Linked DNA regions of Homo sapiens: all the other regions are linked to region 6. The links are contacts of gene promoters, found by promoter capture Hi-C in blood cells and fetal thymus (Javierre and others, 2016). All regions are on one chromosome and are shown on one strand. Each heading gives the region's core, a stretch centred on a gene start or on the middle of the fragment in contact. The rest is flanking DNA. Distances are from core to core; before and after follow the strand shown. Region 1 overlaps CHD1L (chromodomain helicase DNA binding protein 1 like). Region 2 has its middle 62 kb from the start of CHD1L. Region 3 overlaps PRKAB2 (protein kinase AMP-activated non-catalytic subunit beta 2). Region 4 overlaps CHD1L (chromodomain helicase DNA binding protein 1 like). Region 5 overlaps LINC00624 (long intergenic non-protein coding RNA 624). Region 6 holds the start of ACP6 (acid phosphatase 6, lysophosphatidic).

Evidence for each region. The method cuts DNA at HindIII sites, captures the fragments that hold promoters and counts their contacts. A CHiCAGO score of 5 or more calls a contact.
Region 1: a contact is called between a fragment that was not itself captured here and the fragment with the promoter of ACP6 in region 6, in 5 of 17 cell types (fetal thymus, erythroblasts, naive CD4 T cells and 2 more). The highest score is 8.8, in fetal thymus.
Region 2: a fragment that was not itself captured here is called in contact with the fragment with the promoter of ACP6 in region 6 in 1 of 17 cell types (erythroblasts); the score reaches 6.5 in erythroblasts.
Region 3: a contact is called between a fragment that was not itself captured here and the fragment with the promoter of ACP6 in region 6, in 1 of 17 cell types (neutrophils). The highest score is 5.2, in neutrophils.
Region 4: a contact is called between a fragment that was not itself captured here and the fragment with the promoter of ACP6 in region 6, in 1 of 17 cell types (neutrophils). The highest score is 5.6, in neutrophils.
Region 5: a fragment that was not itself captured here is called in contact with the fragment with the promoter of ACP6 in region 6 in 1 of 17 cell types (fetal thymus); the score reaches 5.6 in fetal thymus.

What each region holds. Positions count from the first base shown.
Region 1 is chr1:147,271,163-147,275,171 of GRCh38, forward strand. CHD1L (chromodomain helicase DNA binding protein 1 like) reads left to right here. Exons shown (of 23, transcript NM_004284.6): 12 at 1,009-1,119. Among named protein-coding and RNA genes, the nearest start is that of CHD1L, 30 kb to the left of the region's middle. The HindIII fragment of the contact is 676 bases long and covers 1,528-2,203 here.
Region 2 is chr1:147,303,243-147,306,974 of GRCh38, forward strand. No RefSeq gene overlaps it. Among named protein-coding and RNA genes, the nearest start is that of CHD1L, 62 kb to the left of the region's middle. The HindIII fragment of the contact is 1,677 bases long and covers 804-2,480 here.
Region 3 is chr1:147,163,883-147,167,746 of GRCh38, forward strand. It overlaps PRKAB2 (protein kinase AMP-activated non-catalytic subunit beta 2), which reads right to left. Exons shown (of 8, transcript NM_005399.5): 4 at 2,964-3,057; 5 at 2,616-2,736. Among named protein-coding and RNA genes, the nearest start is that of PRKAB2, 6.7 kb to the right of the region's middle. The HindIII fragment of the contact is 7,359 bases long and covers 1-3,864 here.
Region 4 is chr1:147,254,821-147,258,807 of GRCh38, forward strand. CHD1L (chromodomain helicase DNA binding protein 1 like) reads left to right here. Exons shown (of 23, transcript NM_004284.6): 3 at 50-156; 4 at 993-1,107; 5 at 1,711-1,742. Among named protein-coding and RNA genes, the nearest start is that of CHD1L, 14 kb to the left of the region's middle. The HindIII fragment of the contact is 5,587 bases long and covers 1-3,987 here.
Region 5 is chr1:147,385,954-147,390,037 of GRCh38, forward strand. The region is part of intron 3 of LINC00624 (long intergenic non-protein coding RNA 624); the gene reads right to left. Among named protein-coding and RNA genes, the nearest start is that of LINC00624, 130 kb to the right of the region's middle. The HindIII fragment of the contact is 8,136 bases long and covers 1-4,084 here.
Region 6 is chr1:147,668,266-147,672,339 of GRCh38, forward strand. ACP6 (acid phosphatase 6, lysophosphatidic) reads right to left here and starts at 2,259. Exons shown (of 10, transcript NM_016361.5): 1 at 1,565-2,259. The coding sequence starts at 1,783. RefSeq lists enhancers at 1,107-2,050, 1,262-1,321, 1,962-2,211, 2,652-2,721. The HindIII fragment of the contact is 4,251 bases long and covers 1-2,732 here.

The DNA of each region.
Region 1 (4,009 bases), core at 616-3,115, 400 kb before region 6:
TGTGTGAAGGCAAGGATGGACAGCAGAGAACAGGCACGTGGGCAGAAATAAACACCCACGTTCCCATCAGTTACATGATTTAAAATTATGGGCCGTGGAGCAAATGTTGTGGAAATGTTTTTGAAAATGTGTGATAAAGTTTCAGTGACTAGAGCTTTTAGCGTCTTGTAACATTCACCTCAACAGTTGAGCACTTACTCATGATCAGTGAAAAGGTGAATATTGAAATTATAGAGATAACAAATAAGCCAGGGGAAAAGTAAGAGCAACTTTTTCTGCATAGACAATAAAGAATGTAGGTTATTACCTGGGAAGTCTGTTTAATATGTAATAAGATTTGTGTGAGATGATGAGAAAAGGCTCTAACATGAGTTGATCTTGAGCCCAATGTTGAACAGCTCCAGACCTTACAATTTAAAAAAGTAGTTCAGACCGGGTGTCTGAGTTCCGCAGTATACCTGGTCCAGTGGACACTTGCAGAATGCCGTTGGCACATGCCACTGGCCATTGAGGGGTCCCCAGATGCATAAACAGCCTGATCCTGTAGCTCCCCTTCCCCACACGGATGCATGGAGGCAGGTGGCGAACTCTAAAGCCTCACTGAAAGGCAGATTGCTGGACTGTTAGAAGGGGCTCACTCACCTGCCTCCAAGCGCTTGTCTTCTGTTTACATAAGAATTACATCTCAGCAAAGTTGAAACTATCACACAGGATAGATGCTCAGGGTTGCTTGAGAATAGTCAAAACTGAGTATTAACTTCATAAGTGCCAAAGACTTCAACTGCATGTATTTAAAAAATCCAGAGGAGTATGTTATGGTGAGTTATTTTGTAAAATGATAATTGTCCCTGTTAATTTAAATTTTTCCCTTTGGGATTTGCTTAAAGTAGGGCTGTGCCTGTATATGGAAAGGGACAAAATTGGCCTTTGGTTTTGGGCTTAATTTTTTATTCCCCAAAGACTACTTGAAAAGGGTTAAGATTTCTGTTTTTCTTCCTCTCTGTAAAGGCTACAGCTATGAGCGTGTGGATGGTTCTGTGAGAGGAGAAGAGAGACACTTGGCCATTAAGAACTTTGGACAGCAGCCCATTTTCGTTTTTCTCCTGAGTACTAGGGCAGGTAGGCTGCAAAGGCATTGATGGAAACAGACAAATGAGGGATAATAGAGTACTATTACATCCCAACGGTTAGTACACTTTTTTCCTTAATTCTCTGAAAGGTGAGGTTACTATTGAATGTAAAACAAGGTACTGGACATCAAGCATGGTGCTGTTTTCTATCCAGCCTGTCCAAACTGTCATCTCAGCAAAGAAGTAAGGCTGAAACCTGGGGTTATTGGAAAGTAATTCTAATCTGCTTTGACCATTGACCTGGGAATGTCCTGAAAGATTTATGTGATTTTGTGGAATGTTTCATTTACATTCAGTGGAAGTAGCTCTTCTTCCCAACCGTGAATTTGGGAAATAAGGTAACAGTTTGTCTACTAGTTGTCCTTCCTCTATAAGTATTTCTGGAATAGTGCTGAAAAGCTTAACAAAAATCTAGTTGTTAAAAAATGTGATTATGTTGAAAATACCAACTTTTTAGAATTATTTATGACATCATCCATATATGATTTAAATCGTGAATATTACGACATTTGTAATGCTTTACCAGTTACAGAGTGCTTTCATTTACTGTTACATAATTTGAAATCAGCTCTTGGAGATGAAATGATTCTCTAAGTCATTGTGGTGTCTGGAAAAAAAAAAAAAAAGGCCGGCACGGTGGCCCATGCCTGTAATCCCAGCACTTTGGGAGGCTGAGGTGGGTGGATCACTGGAGGTGAGGAGTTTGAGACCAGCCTGGCCAACATGGTGAAACCCCGTCTCTACTTAAAAAAATACAAAACTTAGCTGGATGTAGTGGTGCGTGCCTGTAATCCCAACTACTACGGAGGCTGAGGCAGGAGAACCGCTGGAATCCAGGAGGCGGAGGTTGCAGTGAGCCAAGATTGCACCACTACATTCCAGCCTAAGAAATTTTTCTCAGGTCCTGGAGCAAGCTGACCTTAGTTTTCAACTCATAGGATCCTAGTTTCATTATCTTATTTTTGTAGACATAAATCTTGATGGAGTACATGCAGGAACATGAAAGAGATGTGTGTCCTCTATTAAAGACAGATTGACATTTTTCTAAAAAGAGAGTTCAGTCTTATTTAGAAAGCTTTCTAAATGCCTGCTGCTATAAGGGTATATGAAAGAAGTGTTAGATATAATTTTTGATTATAAGGAGATTATTTCACCTGTGTTTGTTTTATCTCCCTAATAAAATTAATAACATAAGATTCATTTGGCCTCACTCTTCCAAGATCATAGACTGCACATGGAGTCTCAGCCATTTTCTCATGTGATCAGTTGCCTCAGGGTTAGTCTCAGGAGAAACTGAAAGAATCAGGCAGTGCATCATCACTGCCGGGAAAACAGTTTTATTTATGCTTTAATGATTTCATCATCCTCATATTCAGAGAGCAGCATTATGTTTGAAATGTCTAAAATTAGGAAAAAAGAGATCTCTGCTTTTCAGTTAATCTCCTTGGAGGACTCAGAGTAGATCTGGGAGCTGAAGCAGTCCTGGACATTAGTCTTCTCCAAACACTGTTGTGTTTGCTGTCACAGTTTTGTTGTAGTTTTGCAGTATTTTCATTTATTTAACAGGTTTCCTTCCAAATTTCAAATATTTCTGTGATGAGTCATGTTGCCACCAGATGGCAGTGATAGCTCATGAATATGTTCCTATTCATGGATGTGGGTGTGGCTTATTTATAAAAATCTCACCCCTCGGTGAAGAGCTGCACTTAGACAACATGAATTCAAGAAGATAATTTTATGGAACACATTTTAAAATGAAATAAGCACCTGAAAAGTATTATAGTATAGTGGATAAAAGCACGGGCTCTGGACCAAGACTGCAAGGGAATGAATCCTGGCTCTTTCACCTTCTAGGCTTGCAACTTCAGAGAAGTCCCTTACCCTCCCTTTCAACATCTATAAAGTGGGGAAAATCGTAGCAACTACTCAACTTCCCGACAGGGTTGTTGTGAGGGTTAAAGGAGTTAATATAGAGAGAGTGCTTAGAATAATGCCTGGCAAGTAGTAAGCACAGCGTAAGTGTCATTATCATTATTATTAGGTATAATTTAGCATCTCTCAGTAATCGGTCATGATTACCTCCTTGTTCCAACTTCAACTTGATACGAAGACTTTAATTAGAATATTCCTGCCTGATTTGTCTGGAGATCCAGCTTATGGTCAGTAGTCCTTCTTAAAAGTTAGTCCTTAATTCAGGTTTATGGAACAAGCCCTTTCAGGCTTGCTTGTTTCAGCAACCAGCTCTAACGACCCTGGCAAGAGGGAGTCTGTTTTGTACTTGTTTTCACATTAATCAAAGAGAAGGCTGCAATGTACCTTCACGGTTCTCTTAATTAATTCCTGTAACTCAAGGTACCTCCTCAGCTCTCTTCCTGCAGCACTGAAGAAAGACCAGCAAGAGTGTTCTGAGCAAGCCTCAGAACACTCAGAGTAAATGACAAGAGTGTTCTTGTCTTGCCGTTGGTTTTGTTACTTTCTTTTTGATTAATGTGGAAACCAGTACAAAAAAGACTCACTGGAGTTTTCTCTAATCAGAGGGAGGAGGTTTCCCACTCTGCTCAGGAGTATAATATCATCCACTCTTCTCATTAACTTTTTATCAGAGATCTTGCTACCTAGTTGTAACTTGCAAGCGACATTCGGCACTCTTCTCTTGACAGTGCGCACTGCAGACCTCTCATATTTAGATCTGTTTTCTGAAAGAGCATGTGTCCTTTTCCTCAGACTACTCTAATCAAAATCTAATCAAGGTTTTTAAGCAGAAGAGATAAAGTGGCTCCATGGCACTGACTTAAGTATCCACCTTGGCCACTTGCCCCTGCTCCGCTCATTCTGTTCCATTCAGTAATAAAAATTTTCCCATCAGGCAATAAGAGGTC
Region 2 (3,732 bases), core at 392-2,891, 370 kb before region 6:
AAGATAAACTACTTCAAATTCAGTGTTCAGAGAGTACTAAGTAGAAGAGGTGAGAACCCATACCTAGACATATAATGACATCTCCAAACATCTCAGCGGTTTTGCCACAAAGGATTCATTTTAAAAACATTTTTGGAGGAACTGTTTAAATAAGAGAAATAGAACCAGCAGATGTTGGCCTGGACCACTTTACTACCTTGCTAACATGTCTCACTCCTTCACCCCACTTTAGGAACTTAGTGTAGCTCAGAATCTTTTTATTATTCACACACATTTGAATAAATTCTCGGCTAAATATAAAATTTGTTTCAAAGTAATTTTCCAGCAATCCTGAGCAAAAAGAACAAAACTGGAGACATCACATAACCTGACTTCAAAATATGTTACAAAGCTATAGTAACCAAAACATCATGGTATTAGTATAAAAATAAACACATAGACCAATGGAACAGAATAGAGGATCCAGAAATAAAGCCATGTATTTGCAGCCAGCTGATCTTCAACAAAGCCAACAAGATCTTACACTGGGGAAAAAAGACTATCTTCAACAAATAGTGCTGGGAAAATTGGATGGCCACATGCAGAAGAATGAAACTGGACCCCTTACCTCTCACCATACACCAAGTAAATTCAAAGTGCATTAAAGACTTTAAATATAAGACCCAAAACTATAAAAATACTAGAAGCAAATCTAGGGAAAACTCTCTTGGATATTGTTCTAGGCAAAGAATGTATGACTTAAGACCTCAAAAGCACAGGGAACAAAACCAAAAACAGAAAAATGGGACTTAATTAAACTAAAAAGCTTCTCTACAGCAGAATAAATGAGTGAAGAGACAACCTATTAAATGGGAGAAAATATTTGCAAGCCATTCATTTGACAGGTGACTAATATCCAGAATACACAAGGAACTCAAACAACTCAACAGTTAACAACAAAAGAATAAAAAAGTGGACAAAGGACATAATAGACAACTCTCAAAAGAAGACATACAAATGGCCAAGAGGTAAAAGAAAAATGCTTAACACCACTAATCATCAGGTAAATGCAAATCAAAACCACAATGAGATAATATCTTACCCTAGTCAGAATGGCTACCATTAAAAAGACAAAAAAAAATGCTGGCAAGAATGCAGAGAAAAGGGAACTCTTATTCACTGTGGGTGGGAATGTAAACTAGTACAACCACTATGGAAAACAGCATGGAGATTTCTCAAAAAACTCAAATAGAATTACCATTTAATCTAGCAGTCCCACCACTAGGTATCTACTAAAGGAAAATGAAGCAATATATCAAAGGAAAACCTGCATTCACTTGTTTATTACAGCAGTATTCATAGTAAGGCTTGTGCCTCTCTGGGATGAAGCTTTGAGAGAAAGAAACAGGTAGCAATATTTGCTGTTCTGCAGGCTCTGCAGGCTCTGCAGACCCAGGCAAACAGGGTCTGGAGTGGACCTCCAGCAAACTCCAGCAGACCTGCAGAAGAGGGGCCTGACTGTTAGAAGGAAAACTAATAGAAAGCAATAATATCAACATCAACAAAAAGGATGTCCATGCAAAAACCCCATCCAAAGGTCCTCAGCATCAAACATCAAAGGTACATAAATCCATGAAGATAAGGAAAAACCAGTGCAGAAATGCTGAAAATTCCAAAAACCACAATGCCTCTTCTCTTTGAAAGGATCACAACTCCTCACCAGCAAGGGACCAAAACTGGATGGAGAATGAGTTTGATGAATTGACAGAAGTAGGCTTCAGAAGGTGGGTAATAACACTCCTCTGAGCTAAAGGAGCATGTTCTAACCCAATGCAAGGAAGCTAAGAAACCTTGATAAAAGGTTATAGGAAATGCTAACGAGAATAACCGGTTTAGAAAAGAACATGAATGACCCAATGAAACTGAAAAACACAGCATGAGAATTTCATGAAGCATACACAAGTATCAGTAGCCAAATTGGTCAAGCGGAAGAAAGGATATCAGAGATTGAAGATCAACTTAGTGAAATAAAGCGTGAAAACAAGATTAGAGAAAAAATGAAAAGGAATGAACAAAGCCTCCCAAGACATATGAGACTATGTGAAAAGACCAAACCTACGATTGATTGGTGTACCTGAAAGTGATGGAGAATGGAACCAAGTTGGAAAACACACTTCAGGATATTATCCAGGAGAACTTCCCCAAATTAGTGAGACAGGGCAACATTCAAATTCAGGAAATACAGACAACACCACTAAGATACTCCTTGAGAAGAGCAACCCCAAGACACATAATTGTGAGATTCACCAAGACTGAAATGAAGGAAATAATGTTAAGGGCAGCCAGAGAGAAAGGTCAGGTTACCCATAAAGGGAAGCCCATCAGACTTAACAGTGGATCTCTCTGCGGAAACGCCACAAGCCAGAAGAGAGTGGGGGCCAATATTCAACATTCTTAAAGAAAATAACTTTCAACCCAGAATTTTATATCGAGACAAACTAAGCTTGATCAGTGAAGGAGAAATAAAATCCTTTCCAGACAAGCAAATGCTGAGGGATTTTGTCACCACCAGTCCTGCCTTACAGGAATTCCTGAAGGAAGCACTAAATATGGAAAGGAAAAAATCAGTACCAGCTACTGCAAAAACATGCCAAAATATAAAGACCAATAACACTATGAAGAAACTGCATCAACTAATGTGCAAAATAACCAGCTAACATCATGACAACAGGATCAGATTCACACATAACAATATTAACAATAAACGTAAATGGGCTAAATGCCCCAATTGAAAGACGCAGACTGGCAAATTGGATAGAGTCAAGACCCATCGGTGTGCTGTATTCAGGAGACCCATTTCATATGCAAAGACACACATGGGCTCAAAATAAAGGGATGAAGGAATATTTACCAAGCAAATGGAAAGCAAAAGAAGCAGGGTTTGCAATCCTAGTCTCTGATAAAACAGACTTTAAGTCCAGGACCAGATGGATTCACAGCCGAATTCTACCAGAGGTACAAGAAGGAGCTGGTACCATTCCTTCTGAAACTATTCCAATCAATAGAAAAAGAGGGAATCCTCCCTAACTCATTTTATGAGGCCAGCATCATCCTGATACCAAAGCCTGGCACAGACACAACCAAAAAAGAGAATTTTAGACCAATATCCTTGATGAACATTGGTGCAAAAATCCTCAATAAAATACTGGCAAACCAAATCCAGCAGCACATCAAAAAGCTTATCCACCATGATCAAGTGGGCTTCATCCCTGGGATGCAAGGCTGGTTCAACATATGCAAATCAGTAAAAGTAATCCAGCATATAAACAGAGCCAAAGACAAAAACCACATGATTATCTCAATAGATGCAGAAAAGGCCTTTGACAAAATTCAACAACGCTTCATGCTAAAAACTCAATAAATTAGGTATTGATGGGACGTATCTCAAAATAATAAGAGCTATCTATGACAAACCCACAGCCAATATCATACTGAATGGGCAAAAACTGGAAGCATTCCCTTTGAAAACTGGCACAAGACAGGGATGCCCTCTCTCACCACTCCCATTCAACATAGTGTTGGAAGTTCTGGCCAGGGCAATTAGGCAGGAGAGGGAAATAAAGGGTATTCAATTAGGAAAAGAGGAAGTCAAATTGTCCCTGTTTGCACATGACATGATTGTATATCTAGAAAACCCCATTGTCTCAGCCCAAAATCTCCTTAAGCTGATAAGCAACTTCAGCAAAGTCTCAG
Region 3 (3,864 bases), core at 684-3,183, 500 kb before region 6:
AATACAATATACAAAAATGAAGAGAAATATATTATAATATATTTTATTTAAATGTTATTGTTTCTTTTTTGAGAGAGGGTCTTGCTCTGTGTCACCGAGTCTGGAGTGCAGTGGCTTGATCACGGCTCACTACAGCCTTGACCTCCTGGGCTCAAGTGATCCTCCCACCTCAGCCTTCAGAGTAGTTGGTACTAAAGGCACATGCTACCATGCCCAGCTAATTTTTTGATTTTTTTTGTAGAGACAGGGTCTCACTATGTTGCCCAGGCTGGTCTCAAACTCCTGGACTCAAGTGATCCTCCCACTTCGGCCTCCCAAAGTGCTAGGATTACAGGTGTGAGCCACCAAATTCATTGTAAGAACTAAGTTCCAGTGTTCCGTTGCACAGTAGAGTGAATATAGGTAACAATAATGTAACAAAATAAAATAGCTAGAAGAAAGGATTTTGAATGTTATCACCACGAAGAAACGACAAATGTTTGAGATGAATATGCTAATTGCCCTGACTCGATCATTACACATATAAAATGTATTGAAACATCACATTGTATCTCATAAATATGTACAATTGTTATGTGTCAATTAAAAATAAAAAATACATATAAGGCAAAAGAAAAAAGCAGAAGTAATACTCTGATATTAAATAATATCTTTAAAACATATGGAACTTGAAACCTTACAAAGTATTATGCTTTGTTATTTCGTCACATGATCCACAAAATACCCTTGGGAAGTGCACAGAATAGTTTTTATTGCCTTTTCACCAGAAAAAAATAAATACAAATTGGTTATTTGCCTAAAGTTACATACATGGATAGACAGTAAATGAGTGCAGACTAAAATCCATTATCTGTAGATTCCTAGTAAAAAATGGATTATAAGCGTTACCTCAATAGATTGGGAAATTAGGAGAAAGGGAAATATCAAAAGTATGCAAGTCTTCTCTCTATATAATTATGATACATGTCTATTTATTGGTTACTTTGCCAGAATTATATAATGCAAAAATTAGTCACAAGTATCCTCATAATCTAATTCAGCATTTTAAAACCCTTTTAAATTACTGTCCCACCAGTCAAAAATAATGCCCAATTTAACCTTCTGAGCTTATATGATGAAAACAACATTTTCAAAAGTTTCCTCAACAGATGATTACACTATTAATAATAGTCTCGCTCTGTCGCCCAGGCTGGAGTGCAGTGGCGAGATCTCAGCTCACTGCAAGCTCCGCCTCCCGGGTTCACGTCATTCTCCTGCCTCAGCCTCCCGAGTAGCTGGGACTACAGGCGCCTGCCACCACACCCAGCTAATTTTTCGTATTTTTTAGTAGAGATGAGGTTTCACCGTGTTAGCCAGGATGGTCTTGATCTCCTGACCTCGTCATCCACCCGCCTCGGTCTCCCAAAGTGCTGGGATTACAGGCCTGAGCCAGTGTGCCCAGCCAATAATTTCTTTTAAAAACAGCAAAGCCACCCTTCTCCCCTGAAATTCAAATATGTTCCACTTAAGGTATTGTGCCTCCTCAGCTGAGAATCACTGAAAGTTTAAGTCCCTGGTTTTACTGTGAAGAAACTCAGAACGAAAAAGGTTGAGAGATTTGTTCATGATGGCAAAACTAGTTAGTAGCAGAGGCAGGCTTTGAACTCACAGGAGAGAAGTGTGCTCACTGGGAATACTGTGCACAATTCTTTAGATAGTTCTTATTGTAAAGTAACAAAATGGTAACTACAAGTGTGGTTAGCAAAATATTCTCTGATACTATAGCAATTGTAAGCAGAGATGAAGGCCTTGGCTCAAATAATATTAGAGGAAATAAAAGTGTAAAGATATTTTCCGCTACCATAGACTTTTTTTTTTTTAACCAAAAATTTACAAAATTTCAATTACCTACAACAGAATTGTCAGGGGGCAGGGGGGTGGTTGTCTTGTTTTTGAGGCAGTATCTCACTCTGCTGCCCAGGCTGGAGTGAGGAGGCTCAAACATGCTTCACAGCAGCCTCGACCTCCTGGGCTCAAGCAATCCTCACGCCTCAGCCTCCCAAATTGTTGGGACCACAGGCATGTGCCATTACGCTCGGCTAATTTTTAAAAATTTTTTGTAGAGATGGGTCTTGCCATATTGCCCAGGCTGTTGGTTTTTTAAACCATTTTTTTCCCCACATTTTTTGGACCTCATAAAATCATGAAACTGCTAACTGAGGTCTCAAACTGGCAGGATTAAGATGGGGCAAACCAAACAAACTACACACATGTATCGCCTCTGCTGGGTAATATCATCAAAGGTCAGTGGAAAACTTGAAATATTACTAGAAACAGCTTTTCAAACTATAGGCTGTAGCCCATTAGTGATTATAAAAGATAACATGGAAAATAGAGTGTATCCCATGTAATAAGGTAAACATTGTATCATGAGACTTGTGTTACAATGTGTGTGTTTGTGTTTGCTGCAAATAAGAGACCTAAATGTTTACAGGAGAAAAATCTCTGTCTCTCTCTCTCCTCCCCCCAACCCCCTGCTCTCTCTCTCCCTCTATATGTATATACACACATAAACAACTTTTAGGAAGGAACTACAAGAAAGACACAGCAAGAGAGAGTAAATAATACAAAATTACCTCTACAAGATGTCTCAGAACTTTCCATAGAATCTAACTTTAAAGCATCGAACACCTCAAAATCAGATTTCTTGACATGGATCAAATTGTTAATTGTGCCAAGCTGACTGGTAACCACAGGCTGAAACAGTGAATAGAAAAAATTATTGAATCTCTCTTTCAAATCCATCTCTTCCATCCAACCTTCCTCTTTTACTAAAATTTACACGATTGTTCTCAGCACCTCCACGTTTTATCAAGAGAGAAATCCTCCAGTGTAGGGGAGCAGCTGCCCATCAGTCTTGACAGAAATGACAGCTAAAATGAGACTGCTAAGTCAATGGTTACCCTTGGAGATCAAGGCCTTACCTCTGATGGATCATGAACCCACTGTCCATCCACAAAGAACTTGTATTGGTGCTCTCCCTCAGGGAGGTCCAGGATGGCAACAAAGTCATTATGGCTACAGAAGAAAAAAGAAAGGCAAACAGGCCAAGTTCCTTTTAGAAGACTGAATCTAAAAAACAAGTGGCAATCATAGTATCATATGAATAATTTCCCAGATTCCTAAGCCATTGTATCCCCTGGTGTAAAAAACAACGTATAAACCCATTCTCCTTTTCTGTATCATCTTGGACATGTATTTACCAGCTCCTCCCAACAACGTTAGTTCTTAACCAATATCTGGAAAAGAATAATAAAAACATTAATCCCCTCAAATGGTTCACCTTAGTATAACTTACTTTGCTTCAGTAGAACAAGTTCCTCACCAGTGCAAATAAGATAGGTAGGTTTAGGATACAGAAGTGCCTCAAGGTACTCTTTCCCTGTTTTGGTGAACCTTTTCTAGAGAATGAACTACCATACAAAGGGCCATTCTGACAACCAGTTAAATCACTCATTATTGCTTTGGAAGCAACAAATAACATGACTACCTAAAAATTCAAAATGTGTTTTGCTTTAGTGCAGAAGTCAGAGCAACAAGACTCAGACAGTTACAAAAGACTTCCCACAAGCATAGACAGGACTTGTATGACATAGTCCTAAAGAATGTAGCCATAAAGCTATTATGAATCCCTCTGAGGCAATGAAATTCTAAAGGGTAAAACATCTCTGACTCACTATGAGGTTAAAAAAAAATCCCACAGATATACTAAGTGGCCGCAGAAAAGGGCATGTTCTAGAGACAGTCCTTAGTAGGTGGAGAAAAGTCCAGCTGGGTCTCTCTTCTGAGAAAAGAAATCAGGTCTCTATTCCTGGACCCTTAGAT
Region 4 (3,987 bases), core at 952-3,451, 410 kb before region 6:
TCTCATGGGGAAATGTGATCAAAACTGCCTTTCTTTTTCTGTGTTCCAGACTATTGCTCTCTTCATTTATTTGGCAGGAAGATTAAATGATGAAGGGCCATTTCTGATTCTTTGTCCCTTGTCTGTTTTGAGCAACTGGAAAGAAGAAATGCAGAGGTACAGAGTAGATGTAGCTGAAATTTTATTGTTTATCTTGATTAAGATTTTTTTTCTGGATGATGTATAAAATATGATAAAACAACCTATTGTCGTAATTAGTAAGTTTATTCCAGAAAACTTTGAGCTGATAGAGTGTAGGTAGACACTGAGGATATAATAGGGGAAGAGTAATATTATTACTATTTGGCAATTTAAAGGTCAGCAATCGTTTGTAGTAAGTATTGATGAACTTAGTAGAAGCCATTGTTTTTTGTTTGTTTGTTTTGAGACAGAGTTTTGCTCTTGTTGCCCAGGCTGAAGTGCAATGGCACGATCTTGGCTCACCACAACTTCTGCCTCCCAGGTTCAAGTGATTCTCCTGCCTCAGCCTCCCAAGTAGCTGAGATTACAGGCGTGCGTCACCACACCTGGCTAATTTTGTATTTTTAGTAGAGACCGGGTTTCTCCATGTTGGTCAGGCTGGTCTCAAACTCCCGACCTCATGTGATCTGCCCGCCTTAGCTTCCCAAAGTGCTGGGATTACAGGTGTGAGCCACCGCGCCCGGCCTATTTTTCATAGTGACGTAGGAAGTAACTCATGTGGAAGAGATCGTTTTATTTTTAGAGTCAGCACAAGACCTTTTTAGATCTGATCCCTCTACCTGTTCACATAGGAACTCGCTCTGAGGTTCAACCATTTTTTTAGATAAGATTCAGAGCCCCAAGACTCTGGTTGTAGGACCTCATGAGTTCTGTACATTGCAATCCTCCCATGAAATGTAATTTTCCAGATATGCACATCCTGTCACATGGATCTAGTATTTATGTTTATCTACTTCTTTTCTTGGATTCAGATTTGCTCCAGGTCTTTCCTGTGTAACATATGCAGGCGACAAGGAGGAAAGAGCCTGCCTTCAGCAAGACCTGAAACAGGAGTCACGTTTTCATGTGCTACTGACTACCTATGAGGTATTCATTCGTTTCTCTATAGCGAGAACTCCTAACCTGTGACCTTAGAAGTTGTAGAGTCTGCTGAAATTATATTTAAGTTTTGTTGAGAGCACACACTTTTCTGGGCAGGGAGTCTACCTTCATCAGATTCTCAAAAGAGGGCTGTAACCAAAAGAAGTGAAGGATCATTGTGCTTCAGATTAGTTCGATCTTTTCCTTTCTTGGTGGATCAAGGGGGAAGGCTTCTCAAGGAAGTGGCACTTGAGCTGCCTCTTGGTTGATGAACAGAAGTCAGGCAGGCAGGCAGGGGAAAGGGTTTTGTGGACTGAGGAATCACGTCTGTTACTGGAGGATAGGAATGGAAGACAGCTCCGGCCTTATTTTAAATCCTTGTTTTTCAGTCTAAGACAGTGTGTGCCACTGACCTTCCACTTAATCAGGCTTTTCTCTTTGTTTTTAAGATGGCGCTACTTAGAAATTATTCTCAGAACTTTTTTTTACTTAGTGAACAAATGAGACTTAGATAAATCCTATAGTTTAAGAGAGTTCACAGAAAACTAGCTTATCAATATCAGAGTTTATCAATGCCAGCCTTTATAACGTGTCTTCCTAATTTTTCAGATTTGCTTGAAAGATGCATCATTTCTAAAATCGTGAGTAGGTTGTACTATTTAAGAACTTGGGTTGAATGTATTATGAATGTCATGTCTTTCCTTCACGTTTTAGTACTTTGCCTCTCCTGGCATGTCTGGTATGTCTTCCATGAGTTCTGTTTATGGGTAGGCGGCATGGTGGGAGTCCTGTGTTTACAGTCCTCTACTCATTAGCTGTGTGTCCTTGGGTTAGTTATTTAATCTCCATGAACTTCAGCTTCTTCATCTGTAAAATGAGGATAATTGTTTCTTACCTCAAATAGCTGTTACGAAAATTAAATGAGATTAAATATACTTTGTATGGTTAATAGATATTAGGCTCTTTACATGCAACTTGCATAGACCCCTTTCAGTACTACCATTTGGAGAGTTTGCTGTAATACAGAAGGAGAACCATTTGAGCTGTTTGCTGGACATAACCTAAAATAGCAATCAGTGCCGTGGAATTAACTTTTTAGAAAGGGAGTTTTAAGTGTACCTCTAATTAGTTAACCTCATATTGGCCCATGAAATCAGAAACTCAGCAATACCACCTAATAATGGGAATGATAGGATCATGTCAAGATAACAGTTACAATGCAGATTAAATAAGGGCTAGAGTTTAGGTAAGAAAGATATGTTGACAGGGTTTCATTCTCTATAACCTCTGTAGTTATTACATGGTTAGGTGGATATTCTGTATTTTAATATTCAAAAATCTTTGTTTTCAAAGTATTTTATCAATATTTTAAATGTTATTTCTTATCCAGGTTCCTGTGAGCTGGATTTCTATTTTCATGTTATTTTGAAATACTAGAGGCTAGGTCATAGATTTCATGACTTCTATCTAGTATTTCATTTAAGTGAGCATATTATCTTATTTTTCTTAAGATATACATTCCCTCTCTTTTTATTATTAATATTCAACTTAATATTTGTTGAAAGTCAGTCACTGGAAAGACATTGTTCTGAGAGTTATTGGCAATATCAGGAAAGTAAATCATAGAGCTTCCCTAAGAAGACAAACTCCAGTGGAGGGATGAGAAGTGTACAGATATCCATAATACATAGCAATATATGGGAAGTCTCAAAAGATAATAAAATTGGGACATAAATGTTGCTGGGTACTTTACATAAATTATCCCATTTAATTTTCATGAAAACCCCACGAGGCAGCTATTATTCATTTTACGGGTGAGGAAAATAAGAGATTTGGTAACCCATCCAAGGTTACATTGCTGATGATAAATAGCAGAGCAGACATTTAAACCCAGCATTTGGTGCTGTGGAGCCTCTTTTTAAGAGAACTTCTCAAAATAGCTAGTTGTACTGGAGTTTTACATTATTCAGCAGAAATAGAATCTTTCTATTTCAGATAATCGGTTTTCAGTGCATTTTCAGGTAGATTTAAAAACCTAAGTAACAGAGGGACATTTATAATGCTGTCCTGTAGTATGAATCCCAACAACATAGATACATTCTTTCAATATATTTGGAAGGTTATATTGCTTATTGCTGTATTGTACATTCTGAGAATAGCAGGGAAGTGTAATATCATCTCTGCCCTAAAGAGATTTATTATGGAGAGTTAAGGCTGTGCATGTTACAAATATGAAAAATTTGAAATGTTTTGGACAATAGACTTGTAAAACTCTTTGGATCAAGAGGATTAGAAGTTACCTCATCCAACTTTCCATTCAGTGCTGGATTTCCCCCATCTTTTCCTCTTCAGGGGACATCATTTAGAGTATCCTTTGATAAGTGATTTGACCCACTTCCTTTCATGAGCCAAAATCCACCACTCTGTAGCCTGTTTCACTGAACAAGCATTTTTTGGACACCTAAATGTCTAGTTCTTCACAAGGGAATAGGACCTAATCTGTTTTGAAAGCTAATTCAGACAGAGCCAGGCACCATCCTAGAGAAACTTCCATACCTTATCTCATGACCACTGTGCAACTTCAACTGGACCTTTGTTTCTTGTCATCCTTAAATGCATCCTCTGCTCATGCCACCCAACCTTCTCCTTCGACTTCCTGCACTCTCTTTGGACCCTCAGTCCTCCCTCTACTCGCTTCTCTCAGTAGGTGAATGGTAATGTCATAGGGACCTCTGTTCCTCTGCCTGTCCTCTGGAGTTTCTCTGTAGCCTCAGGAAGAGGGCCTCCTCCTTGTAAGGTGAACCTCTGCTCAAGATCTTTCTCTAATTTTGGAGGAATTTTCCTTTCCATACCTACTATTTTTCCAGTGTTCTGTTTTACCTGTAT
Region 5 (4,084 bases), core at 957-3,456, 280 kb before region 6:
ATGGGCATTTTGGTTGATTCCATGTATTTGCTATTGTGAACAGTGATGCAATGAACCTACAAGTGGGTTTACTAGGTCATATGGTAGGTATGTGTTTAACTTTTTAAGCTGCCGCCAAACTGTTTTCTAAAGAGATTTGTTATTTTACATTCCTAATAACAACATATGAAAGTTTCAGTTGTTCCATATCTTTGGCAACACTTGGTTTGGCCCTTTAAATTTTAGCCATTCTAGAGGAAGTTTACTGGTATCTTATTTTAATTTGTGTGACCCTAATGAATAATGATGTTGAGCATATTTCATATACTTATTTGCTACTTATACATCTTCTTTGGTGAAATGTCTGTTCAAATTTAACTATTTTTAAATTTGGTTGTTTGTCTTATAGTTGAACTGTACATTTTTTTGTACTAGATACAAGTCCTTTTTTGGATATCTGTTAGCAGATATTTTCTCCCAATCTGTGGCTTTGCTTTTCACTTCCATTAGAGTATCTTCTTGAAGAGCAAAAGTTTTTAAATTTTGATGATGGCAAATATATGAGTATTTTCTATCTCATGCTTTTAGTGTCTTATCTATGAAATCTTTGCCTCACCAATGTCATTAAAATTTCTCCTATATTTTTGTAGAACTTTAATAGTTTTAGATTTTATATTTAGGTCTATGATTGATTACAAGACTATGTAGTACACAGAAATTTCATTAGCTATTCTAGGTTTTTCAAATTTCCACATAAATTTTAGTATCAAATTGTCATCTTTTTTTAAAAAAAGAGAAAAACCCTGCTATTATTTTGAATGGTATTATATAGAATCTATAGAACAATTTGGAGATAAGTAACATGTTAATATGGAGTCTTCCTATACATGAACAAATTCCCAGCTTTGTTTTTTTAAAATAGTTTCTGCTATTCTGAGTCTTTTGAGTTTTCACAGAATTTTTAGAATCTGCTTGTTTGTCTCCACACAAAATCTACTGGAATTTTGAATGGCACCAAACCCATAGATCAATTTGGAAAAAATTGCCATCTTAAACAATATTGAGTTTTCCAATCCAAAAACATTGAAAGTTTGTACATTTACTTAGAGTTAAAAAATTATCTCTACAAGGTCTTTTTTTTTCTTTTTTCAACTTTTATTTTAGAATCAGGAAGTACATGTGCAGGTTTGTTATTATACGAAGGTATATTGCATGATGCTGACTCTACAATGTTTTGAAACTTTCCATGTACAAGACTTGCATACCGTCTATTAAATGTATTCCTACATGTGGTATTCTTTTTAATGCTTTTATAAATTCATAATTCCCTTTTCAGATTGTTTATAGCAGGTAGACAGAAATACAACTGATTTTTGTATATTGATCACATATCTTGTGACCTTGCTAAATTCCCTTATTAATTCTAGGATTTGTTTTGTTGTTATTGTTGTTTCTTGCGTAGACTCCCTAGGGTTTTCTACATGGACCACTGTGTCATCTGCACATAGGTATAATTGTTTTTTTTTTCCTTTTGATCCATATGTCTTTTCTTTCCTTTTATTTTCTTTTTGCATGGGCTACAACCTCCCATAGAGGTTAGAATGAATCGAAGAGGTTAGAGTGAACATCCTTGCCTTTTACCCAATCTTAGATGGAAAGTCTTCAGCCTTTTATCATTAAGACTGATGTTTGCCATAGGTTTTTTTGTAGATGGCTTTCACCAGACTGAGAAAGCTATCTTTTATTCCAAGTCTTTTGAGATTTTTTAAAATCATAAATAGGTATTGAATTTTGTCAAATATTTTTCTGCATATATTGAAATTATCATGTGGTTTTTGTCCTATATTATTTTAATATGATGTATTTCATTAATTGTTTTTTGGATGTTAAACAGCGTTGCACTCCTGGGATGCATCTTACCTAGTCATGGTGTATAATTCTTTTTCATATTCTTAGATTTCATTTTCTAATATTTCCATTTATATTCAGAAGAGATGTTGGTCTATAGTTTTCTTTTCTTGTAATATGCTTATCTTACTTTGGTATGAGGATAATATGGCCTCATAGAATGAGTTGGAAACTGTTCCTTCTGCCTCTATTTCCTGGAAGAGCTTGTGGAGCAGCAGTCTTATGTCTTTGTTAAGTGTTTGATGGAATTCACTTGCAAAGTCATGTAAGTCTGAGTTTGTATTTGTGAGAAGGTTTTAACTACAAATTTCTTTACAGATTTTGGATCTATTCAGATGTTTCATTTCTTCTTGAGTTAGTTTTGGTAGTTTATGGGGTTTTTTAAGAATTTGACTATTTCACCTAAGTTGTCTAATTTGTTGGCATAAAGTTCCTCATAATATTCCCTTATGATGCTTTTCATTTAATTTGAAATATTCTTTTTCTTTTCTAATATAGGCATTTAAAGTCATATGAATTTTTCTCTGTGTTGCTTTAGCTGCATCCCATAAATTGTAATATGTGTGGTTTTCATAGTGATACAATTTAAAATACTTTCTAAATTTTTGGTAATTTCTCCTGATTCATTCATAATATAATTCATTCAGAAATATATTGCTTAATTTCCAAATATTTGTGGAGTTTCCAAATTTCATTTTGTTGTTGGTTTCTAATTTAATTCCATTGTGGCTGGGGAACATACTTTGTATTATTTAAATACTTTCATGGAAAGGGACAAAATGGCTGACTAGACACAGCCAGGAAATGCCTCTCCCACAAAGAGAATCCAGGATTTCAAGTAAAACATCATAGTTCAAACAGATCATTTGAGAGAAAACACAAAAAGTTGATAGAGAGGTGACAGAGACACTGAGGGTGAAGAAGGAGGAAGCTAGGCGCCTGCATGGAGTCACTCAGAGTGACAAGACCAGCTCCTGATCCTGAGCAGGTCCTAGGGAAGCAGTGAGTGAAGGAACTCCCAGGCACCACACTCCCGCCACACACCTCTGGGATCCAGACTACAAGAGATCCCATGACCCCCACAGGCATTTGAACTGATAGAGGAAACTGCCTTGAAGCAGAACTGGAACCTGCATGGAGTCCAGAGCTACAGCAAAAATGTGAGCATAGGCTCCCATTCCCCAAGGCTCTCCATTTTGTTCTGTGTGGCTCTAGCCCCTGCTGACTGCCGGGCTGGGAGAGAGCAGAGCTACCTTTCCCGTGGGACAGGGGCACATCTGATACACATGGCCCTTGTACACCAGCTCCTCCCAAGGCCACATGCCTGGCTGCTCCTGCAACAGGGAGCACAGAGCACAGCCTCCAGCCTCCACTGCTCCACCTGAGTATTTTTGCCAATCGCCTGGCAGCAGTTTGGCTCCCCGGAACACAGCCAGTGCTCAACCCCAAGAGGCCAGAGGGCAAAGCCATGGGCCTGGTCCCCAACCCCCAGGGATTGTGCACACTGCCCAGGGGCATCAAGCTGAGATCTGTGACCTGACCTCAAGCAAGGGAAAAGCCTCCACTCTCAGAACACTGAGAAGAGTGAGGCGTGAGTTTGTGGGCATGTGCTGGCGTGGGACTTGAGCATCTCTTCCTATGCAAAGCTGGCCTGGGAAGAGCCTAGCCTGTTGACCAGCTGCAGCTTCTGCCCAAGAGGGCCCCAAGGCTTGGAACACCTGGAACAACCCAGCGATCTGGATGCAGAATGCTTGAGACAAATCTAGCTGGTCAGGCCTCCTCCTGGGGCAAACATCTGAGGGAGGCTCAGTTGGGGGACTGCAAGCTCAGTAGACCCCATAGCCATCTCCTGGGCAAAAATAAAAAACCCAGGCCGTGGACGCCACACCAGCTGCACACTCGTGGCACTACCACCCTGCCCAGGGATCCTCCGCCCATGATCCACTGCATCACCAGGCCAACGCAGACATAGCCCACAACCCTCTCTGGCTCTGCCAAACACAGAGAATCAGCAGGTTCCCTGGAGTGGTGGGTCTCTTGTTGACCCAACCTGTGGATCTGACTGCCCCTAACGGAGGTGGGAGTGCAGGCCACCAGGACCCCCACTGGAACTAAGGAACATAGACACAGTGCTAGTGATTGGAGGGGGGTCCCTCAAGGCCCAGGAGCAGATACCACGAGGGAGACATCTCTTGCC
Region 6 (4,074 bases), core at 1,009-3,508:
GTGGCTACACAGATTGAAGATGAATGAAGCTGGTATCCTAAGCTACAACGGACCTTTCAACCATAAAGGCAGAAGATATCCATCACACACCCACTCTCCCTTAGGGATAAAGCCCTAAAAGAATCTAAATCTTTTCCTAGTGCCTTCAGGATATATATATATATATATATGGTACATACTAGGTCTAGGCCTACACATTCAAAGTTTTACTCTCCATTACCACTGATAATTTTTTGTCTTCTACGTGAATATAATATATATTCCTACATGTGATTCCCCAGTCCTTCTGTACCAAGAATAAATAGAGAAGAATTGGGGGAAGGGGAGCATCAGAGATGGGCTGTATACAAAATCATAAGGAAAATTTAGTGATCTAATATAAAAAGGCAAAGTAAGAGACTGAAAAAAAAATCAAAGAATCAAAATGAAAGAAGAAATCCCGGTTCCAGAGAGCAAGTGGTAAAGCCAGAGTAAGGCTAACTAGAAACCTGGTAATAGAATTAAGTGCCTTCCAAATGTATTTATTTATGTGGAAAATGCTTTAGAAGTTTAATTTCATGTGCGGCCAACCTTGAAAAATGGGTTTCCAGTTGTACAATGTAAAGACACAATCCTGAAGGTTTCTAGAAAGCAACTGTTATTATGAAGAGTATACCTAACATCAATTTTGGACAATCTTTTCGACCTCCTCCAACATCAACCTGGAAGACCAACGATACAAAAGCACTCCACAGGTGTAATACCTGGGAGTTTGGGGATTTCAGGTTGCCTGTTCCTCTTCACTAGGCCTTTCTGCTATAAAAAGTCACATCCAGGAAAGATAATCATTTTTTTTTAAACTATTTGTGCTTTAGTCATAATTATCCTGACAAAACCAGACAGATTTTTAAAACATTACTGCCACAGACTAGCCCATTTTAAATTTGTTCCGACCTCAGATCCCTCCCACTATAGGTTTAGTAACCTTAAATAGAAAAGGAGAACCCTAGAATACAACACTTGTTACAAAAAAAAACTTCAGGAGATCTCAAATGGCCTCCAGCAAACCCTGAGAAAAAGCAGTTATAAAGTTTGTTTCCAAAGGCAACGACCTCTTATCCACTGTAATCTCAGTTAAGAGTGGTTCCTATCACTAAAGTCCCTTCAGCCCTTCAGCTCTGACAAACCACCTTCAAAATGGTCACACAGAAGTGCACTGCACCCTTGTATTCAAGTTCACCTAGACCCTTAATAGAAATGCTGACCTGGGGCACTACTCCACACCTGCTGAATCAGAATCTGCAACGTAGCAGGATCCCCAGGCGACTCCCATGCGTCTTAAGCAGCGCTTACTGATGGCTGCGCCATCAGGGCAAAACTGGAAGTTCCGGGGCTGTCCTAACCCCAGCAGGTCCTTTGCTCAAGAGCCTGGGGAGTCACTGGCTACTGCTGTTTTCCCTTCTTCTGGACCCAACCCGAGCCCCGCTCCGCGCGAGTAAAGCTCTGAAGATGTGTGTCAGGGCGAGACTCCTGGCCTGGCACACGGTCCTCGCCCCACCAGCCCCAGCCCGGGCCGACCTCTCACCTGCTCCTCCAGCGGGAGCGGCTTGAGAGGACTCCGAGCCCCGTGTCGAAACACGACCTGCACCATTTTCAACTTCAGCAGGCTGCGGTCGACCGGACACTGGCCATCGGCCTCCTGCAGCTCGGCCAGGGCCACCCGCCGCTGGTGCAGGCAGTACGCCAGCGAGGTCAGGACGCCCACTGGGGTCCACAAGCGCATGCTGAACACACCAGTGATCATGGTGGTAGGCCCTCGCTGCCCTCCGGGTTGAGGCTGCAGGAGGCAAACACAAGTCTTCTGCGGGCGCCGGGGCTCAGCGGGCGCCCCCAAGTCCGCGGGAACCTGCGGATGCGTACATCCAGCCCTTCAGCAAGCAGGGACCGCTGTGCCTCCCGGCCCTGAGGGAGACCCCGAGTGGGAACGGGGGAGAGAACAAGAGGTGGCAGCAGCGAAGAGTCCCTGGGAGTTTTAACCCGGGTCGGGGTTGGTCGCTCCTGCTGCACACCGGGCCGGGGGAGATCGGATCCTTATCTTTTGCCCGACGAGGAACATTAAACTTGTATTTCAAGTTTGGCCTCCAGCACTCTTGAAGGAACAGGAGCCGGCCCTGAGTTCCCTGGCGGCAGCGGCTCCACCAGCAAGGACTACTCGATTCCACTTTTCTATAAGCAAGCTCCTACCCACCTCCTCACCTACTCAGGGACCCGTCCCAAGTGGACCCGCGCACAGGAGCACGGGAAAACGAGTCCTGTGGTGACACCTCGCCTGGAGACTCAGAGCTGCGGAAACTACAACTCCCACAAGGCTGCGCGTACCGCGGCTCCCAAGAAGTGGCTTGTACCCGCCCCCCTCGCCTGCGGGCCTCGCCCCTCCGGCCCAGCCAGCCGTTTTCCAGGCGTGGATGGCCCACGGACGTGCCTGGTCCGGCAGTGGAGTGGTAGTGAATCTGTCGGGCCATGGAGTTTGCCAGGCAGGAGGATCGCGAGCGCAGGAGTAGAACTGGGTGGTGGAGGGGAGTAGTTTGAGTCTAGTTTTGAATGTAGAAGACTTCCTTCCAGTCCTGGAAGCCTGGTTGCTGCAGCGAGGAGCTGAGACACCTGCCGAGTGATTGCCATTTGCGAAACACAGCACTAGGTGCTTTATATTTAGTCATTTACTACTCCCTTCTCTGTTTTTAAAAAAATTCTCAAGCTTAAGTCATTGTAATCATGTAGAACTTTCAGGTCACTGATGTGTTTACTTCCATCCAGAATACTTCTTGTGGAAAAAGCCAGGCCTTGCCTGTGGGTGTCCCAGTGATTAAGAACCTAAGAGGCGCCATGGCTCACGCCTGTAATCCCAGCACTTTGGGAGGCCGAGGCGGGTAGATCATGAGGTCAGGAGATCGAGACCATCCTGGCTAACACGGTGAAACCACGTCTCTACTAAAAATACAAAAAAAAAAAAAAAAAAAAATTAGCCAGGCGTGGTGGCGGGCACCTGTAGTCCCAGCTACTCAGGAGGCTGAGGCAGGAGAATGGCGTGAACCCGGGAGGCGGAGCTTGCAGTGAGCCGAGATCGCGCCACACGACTCCAGCTTGGGCAACAGCGCAAGACTCCGTCTACAAAAAAAAAACAAAAAAAAACCTAAGAACACAGAACAATGCCAGCCTTACCACCTGCTAGTCTGGTTTCTGTTGATATACAGGTATCCCAAGCCTGTGTTTCCAGATCTTTGCAACAGGACACAATCTGGGACCCACTATGTGTCTATCTCCAAAGATCAAACTGGGCCAGATGTAAAGACAACATACTTACAGAGCATGGCTCCTGGCCTGAGAACAAATTCTGTTCACCAAGCTGGAAGGTTCTGAGTGCTCCCCTCCCTGATGCAGGGAGGAGGGTCATTTTGGAACACTACATATTGTCACAATTTTCTCCCTAGCCCAGCCAAGGGACTCACTTTTCAGAGTCTTATTGTGTGTGCTGATGTGATTAAAAATCGAATACTGTTTGCTATGGACTCAGTTGTGTCCCCCGCCAAATTCGTACCCACTAAGTGACTGCATTTGGACATAGGACTTTTAGAAGGTGATTCTGTCAGAGGCATTTGAACCATAGTGACTCCATCTTGAATAGCGGCTGGGTAAAATGAGGCTGAGACCTACTGGGCTGCATTCCCAGGAGGTTAGGCATTCTCAGTCACAGGATGAGGGGGGAGGTCAGCAGGACTGGTATCACAAGAAACCAGTCAAAAAGACCCTGCTGATAAAACAGGAAGTGGTAAAGAAGCTGGCCAACACCAACCAAATGCAAGATGTTGATGGAAGTGACCTATGGTCAAACTCACTGCTCATTTTACGTTAATTATAATGCATTAGCATGCTAAAAGACACTCCCATCAGCACTATGACAATTTACGAATGTCGGGGCCAGCAGTTACCCTATATGGCCTAAAGTGGGGAGGAACCCTCAGTTCCAGGAAATCCCACTCCTTTCCCAGAAAATTCATGAATAATCCACCCCTTGTTTGGCATATAATTAAGAAATAA